Regions from separate parts of the Homo sapiens genome. Here region 2 is linked to region 1. Evidence: promoter capture Hi-C in 16 types of primary human blood cells and fetal thymus (Javierre and others, 2016). All regions are on one chromosome and are shown on one strand. The core of a region is centred on a gene start or on the middle of the fragment in contact, and the rest is flanking DNA. Distances in the headings are between cores, read along the strand shown. Region 1 holds the start of ICAM2 (intercellular adhesion molecule 2). Region 2 overlaps SCN4A (sodium voltage-gated channel alpha subunit 4).

Evidence for each region. Contacts are between HindIII fragments. The CHiCAGO score rates a contact against its expected background, and 5 or more counts as called.
Region 2: a contact is called between a fragment that was not itself captured here and the fragment with the promoter of ICAM2 in region 1, in 8 of 17 cell types (naive B cells, total B cells, naive CD4 T cells and 5 more). The highest score is 11.8, in naive B cells.

What each region holds. Positions count from the first base shown.
Region 1 is chr17:64,019,257-64,022,096 of GRCh38, forward strand. ICAM2 (intercellular adhesion molecule 2) reads right to left here and starts at 1,377. Exons shown (of 5, transcript NM_001099789.2): 1 at 1,267-1,377. RefSeq lists enhancers at 997-1,116, 1,211-1,711, 1,457-1,546, 1,767-1,816. The HindIII fragment of the contact is 3,360 bases long and covers 695-2,840 here.
Region 2 is chr17:63,950,271-63,953,110 of GRCh38, forward strand. It overlaps SCN4A (sodium voltage-gated channel alpha subunit 4), which reads right to left. Exons shown (of 24, transcript NM_000334.4): 14 at 1,154-1,630. Among named protein-coding and RNA genes, the nearest start is that of CD79B, 19 kb to the left of the region's middle. RefSeq lists an insulator at 1-1,582, an enhancer at 692-751 and a silencer at 719-1,013. The HindIII fragment of the contact is 2,018 bases long and covers 330-2,347 here.

The DNA.
Region 1 (2,840 bases), core at 127-2,626:
AGACTGTAGTCCCAACTAATCAGGAGGCTGAGGTGGGAAGATCACTGGATCCCAGGAGTTCGAGGTTGTAGTGTGCTATGATCATGCCTGTGAATAGCCACTGCACTCCAGCCTGGGAAATATAGTGTGACCCCATCTCAGTAAATAAATAAATAAATAAATAAATAGAGATGCATATGTAATAAAGCACTTAAAAATAAGAGAACAATAAACACAAAATTCCAGAGGGTGGCTACCTGTGGGTGGGAGGCAAGTAGCATAAAAGTGGACAAGTGGTGGCCAGGTGTGGTGGCTCACGCCTGTAATCCCAGCATTTTGGGAGGCCGAGGTGGGCGGATCATGAGGTCAAGAGATCGAGACTCTCCTGGCCAACATAGTGAAACCCTGTCGCTACCAAAAACACAAAAATTAGCTGGGCATGGTGGCATGCGCACCTGTAGTCCCAGCTACTTGGGAGGCTGAGACAAGAGAATCGCTTGAACCCAGCAGGCGAAGGTTGTGGTGAGCCAAGATTGTGCCACTGCACTCCAGCCTGGGCGACAAGAATGAAAACTCTGTCTCAAAAAAAAAAAAAAAAAAAAAAAGCAGATAAGTGGTGTTTGCAGTTTGGTGATACTCCATCCTTGTGCTGAGTGGCAGCTTCAGGTGTGTTTGGTATATTACTGTGCAGTATGATGTATATGTATGTTACATAAGCTTTTTATGCGTTACCTAGTAAATTTTACAAAAATAATAAAAGGGAAAAAGGGCCTTTCTACGTGCCTAGAAAGAAGAGGCTTCATGGGAATGTGAGCCATGGGTTAGGAAAGACCCCCTCGAACCGAGGCAGGTAGGAAGTGAGTGACTGAGATTCATTATGAACCCACCACGCCTGCCGGGGAGAACAGGGACTGTCCCTTCCCCTCTGCATCAGCTCAGATGGTCCAGATCACAGCCCACGTGGGCCCCTAAATAAGGAGGCAGCCCCACATTTCTACATCGGCCACCGAGATGGCAGAGCAGAGGAAGGAGAGAGGGGAGACAAATCAGGAAAGGAGCGCCAGGGCAAGTGCGTGAGCTCAGAGACCCAGCAGGGCAGGGCAGGAGCTTCACAGAGTGCAGAATGTCGAGCCACAGGAGCGCTGGGGATTCCCCAACCCCTGCACTTACCAGCGAGAAACTGAGACCCAGAGAGGGGAACGGACTAAAACTCAGACCTCGACACTGCCAAAATCCTTCCCATGCTGCCACGCTTCATTGGAGGGAAAGTGAGAAGCTCAACCTTACCCCTGTGGGCTCCAAGAAGGGTAGCTCTGGGATCCCGGGCAGGAAATTGGTGACAAGGTGACAAGGTGCGCGTGTCACAGCTGCCCAGTTCACGGCTTATTCAGTCTTCTCCCTCCCCCCACTCCCCACCAGAAGTGACGTGCTTCCTGTGCCCCGGTTCCCACCCTAAACTAGCCTCATTTAGCTCCACTCCCATTCCGCTTTTTTTTTTTTTAATTGTGGTAAAACGTACACAACAGAATTTACCATTTCAATTTTTTTTTTTTTTTTAGACTGAGTCTCAGTCACCCAGGCTGGAGTGCAGTGGTGTGATCTCGGCTCACTGCAACCTCTGCCTCCCGAGTTCACGTGATTCTTGTGCCTCAGCCCGCAGAGTAACCGGGACCACAGGCACCTGCCACCACGCCTGGCTAATTTTTGTATTTTTAGTAGAGACAGGGTTTCACCATGTTGGCCAGGCTGGTCTCGAACTCCTGACCTCAAGTGAACTGCCTTCCTCGGCCTCCTAAAGTGCTAGGATTACAGGCAAGAGCCACTGCGTCCAGCCAATTTTTTGTTGTGTTGTTTTTAAGACAGAGTCTTGCTTTTGTCACCTAGGCTGGAGTGCAGTGGCACAATCACAGTTCGTGGCAACCTCTGACCCCTGAGCTCAAGTGACCCTCCCTCCTCAACTTCCCAAGTGACTGGGACTACAAGTGTGCAGCCACCAGGCTTGGCTAATTTCTGTAGTTTTTGTAGAGACAGAGTGTTGCTTATGTTGCCCAGCCTGGTCTCAAACTCTTGAGCTCAAGCAATCCTCCCACCTCAGCCTCCCAAATGCTGGGAATGAGCCACCGTGCTAGGCCCATTTTAATTATGTTTAAGTGTACAGTTTGGGGCACTAAGTACATTCACATTGTTCTGCAACCATCACCACCATCCATCTCTGGAGCTCTCTCTTTCTCTTTTCTTTCTTTTTTTTTTTTTGAGATGGAGTTTCGCTCTGTTGCCCAGGCTGGAGTGCAGTGGTGTGATCTTGGCTCACTGTAACCTCTGCCTCCCAGGTTCAAACGATTCTCTTGCCTCAGTGTTTTTGTTGTTGTTGTTGTTGTTTGTTTGTTTGTTTGTTTTGTAGAGATGGAGCCTCACTCTGTCGCCCAGGCTGGAGTGCTGGAGTGCAGTGGTGTGATCTCGGCTCACTGCAACCTCCGCCTCCCGAGTTCAAGCAATTCTCCTGCCTCAGCCTCCTGAGTAGCTGGGACTACAGGTGCACGCCACCACGCCTGGTTAATTTCTTTTGTATTTTAGCAGAGATGGGGTTTCACCATGTTGCCTAGGCTGGTCTCAAACTCTTGAGCTCAGGCAATCCGCCCGCCTTGGCCTCCCAAAGTGTTGGGATTACAGGCATGAGCCACCGTGCCTGGCCTTGCCTCAGCCTCTTGAGTAGCTGGGATTACAGGCACGTGCCGACTGGCTAATTTTTGTATTTTTAGTAGAGATGGGGTTTCATCATGTCGGCCAGGCTGGTCTCGAACTCCTGACCTCAAATGATCCGCCCACCTCAGCCTCCCAAAGTGCTGGTATTACAGGCATGA
Region 2 (2,840 bases), core at 89-2,588, 69 kb before region 1:
CATGGCCGGGGTGGGGGTCCTTGTTTTCATTAGACTAAAAGGGAAACTGAGGCACAGAGTGTTAGGTCAGCCAGGGCATCCACTGAGTTGCTTGCCCCGATTGTGCACTCAACTCCCTAAATCTCCCTTGGAGTTGTGCTCGCCCTCCTTGAACAAGTCCCCAGGCCCCGGCCCCGGCCCCGGGGAGCCTGGGACTTTGGTGCTCTCCAGCTCCCCCGCCACCTGAGTGCCTCATACCGAGGTCTGTGCCACAGTTGCCTGGGTATTTATAGCTCACAGGCACTCGCTTCCTGGTAAGCCAGCATATTTGGGGGGAATAAGGAGTCAAAAGCTTTCAGGGCAAAGTTCATTAGGCTCAGGCTGATGGTGCAGGGGTGGGCAGGGGCCCTCGTCCTAGCTCCTGTATGAGTCCTTTCCCTGCCAGAGCTGGACAGTGGGGAAGGGGGCTCAAGACCCAGGCAGGGTCAGCCTCAGCCTCAGCCTCAGCTGCTGGGGGTTACCACCGCTGCGTTCCTGTCCCTTCCTCGACCTCGCAGTGGAGGGGTGGGGAGGGGCATCTGAGCCCAGCAGCACACCCCCTGCATGGCTGAGGGGTCAGGGCTCCTGCCTGAGGCTTCTGTCCTCCTTGTCCTCAACTCCCGTTGGCCCCTAGCTCCTCTCCTGAATCCCCTGCCTGGATCTGGCACTTTGGCCCACACTGGGAGGTTGGGAGCAGACCCAGGTGGGGTCTAAACAGAGATAGAGGATAAGTGTGAGGACTGGGCAAGGGGCCTCAAACCCAGAGGAGAATATGTAAGAGAGGCCTCTCAGGTCCTGGTCCTGGAGCTGCGGTGCCCAGGTAAAAGCAGCATGTCCAAGGGCACCACCTGCTGGTGAGAGGGGCCCAGGTGTTCTGGTCCGAGGGAATCAGGGTTTCTGGACAGACAGGGTTGATCATAATAACCACATCAATAACGATAGTGACTGCCACCACTCACAGGGCGCGGACTGCATGCTTTACATACAGCGTCTCACATAATGCTTGCAACAATGCCATAGGGCACCACCCCCATTTTACAGCTGGAGAAACTGAGGCTCAGAGAGGACTTAGGGCTTGCTCCAGGTCACAGGAGAATTTGAAGCCGGGTCTGTCTGAGCCCCAGCCCCGGCTCACCTTGCTATCCTCAGGCTCTGAGAAAGTGTCGGTTTCCTCCTCGGTGGGCATCTCCAGGTCGGACTCCTCGGAGGCGATGGGCACCTGTATGGTCAGGTAGGGGTTGTTGATGAAGTTAAGGTGGTCCAGCTCGAGGCTGGATGGGGGGCCGTCAGCCAGGCCCATGTGGTTCAGGATGTGATTGTCCTTCTTCAGGTCCTCCTCGGGCGGCTCCTTCTTCTCATCCTCGGGGGCAGTCTCCCCCGCCTCTCCAGCCTCCCCGGCCCCGTCAGCCTCCCCGAGGCTGAGCATGATGTCCTTGGGGCTCAGGATCTTGCCATGCAGCAGCCCCAGGAGGAAGGCCTTGGCAAAGCCGATGCCCAACTTGATGCGCCCGATGGCAATCTGCAGGTTGTTCATCTCGCCATCCTCATCCGAGGCTGCCAGACTGTCGGCGCTGAAGGAGCTCAGCAGCAGAGCCAGGAACAGGTTCAGGACCTGGGGCATGGGGTCAGGGGGAGCCTCACATCAGTCCCCGGGACCCAGAGGGTGCCACCTTCAGCCAGCACAGGGGTCCTCGGTCTACAGATCCAAACTACCACATGTTGGGCATTTAAAAGAACGCCACCTAAGAGGTGTTCACAACTGCTCATGGAGGTGATGGTTATTATCCCTTCTGCAGATGGGGAAACTGAGGCTTGGGCTTCTGAGAGGACTCTGCTACCCAGGGCAGAGGCAGGGTTTAGGGAGGCCTGCTGGGGGACAGGAACTCTCTCCATGACTGTCCTTTTTTTTCTTTTTTTTTTTTCGAGATGGAGGAGTCTCCCTCTGTTGCCTCCAGACTCCGGGCTGGAGTGCTGTGGCGCGATTTCGGCTCACGGCAACCTCCACCTCCCAAGTTCAAGTGCCACCATGCCCAGCTAATCTTTGTATTTTTTGTAGAGACGGGGTTTCAACATGTTGCCCAGGCTGGTCTCAAACTCCTGACCTCAAGTGATCCGCCTGCCTCGGCCTCCCAAAGTGCTGGGATTAGAGGCATCACCACGGTGCCTGGCCCATGACTGTCCTTTACCTCCACTTCTGGAGGATGCGGAACAAAGAACTGGGCTCAAGTCGCCGAGCTTCCAGGACTTACTGGGAACCTTTATCTTTTGTGCCTTCTTCTCCACCTCTGTTAAGTGGGACTTTATAGACCCCGCACTCCTGGAGTGCAGAAGCTTGGCCCCTGCTACTCTGGAAGGGACATCTGACCTACTATTTACCCTCTTTTCTCCTCTTGGGGTTTCCGACTCCATCTATTCTGGTTCTTGTCCCACATCCCTACGGAAAGACTTAGGAGGCTACTGCTGCTCCCCCCCAGCACCCCCACCCACTTTATTTTCCAGTGGATAGACATTTCCTGAGCCCCCGTCACTGCATGAATGGCCTCAGGGAGCTCACAGACCAGCAGAGACAGAGAGCAGATCAATCACATGCAATACTGTGGGTTTGGGTGGCAGCAGAGACTGGAGTGCACAGCTTTTGAAACCACATTGCAGGGCTCTGAACCCCAGTTTATTAGCTGTGTGCTCTGAGGCAATTTGCCTCACTGCCCTGTGCCTCAGTTTCCTCATCTGTAAAAAGGAGATTATCCAAGTGTTCCTCCCATTGTTGTGAGGATTAAAGGATCAATAAAAGCCCAGGCGCAGTGGCTCACACCTATAATCCC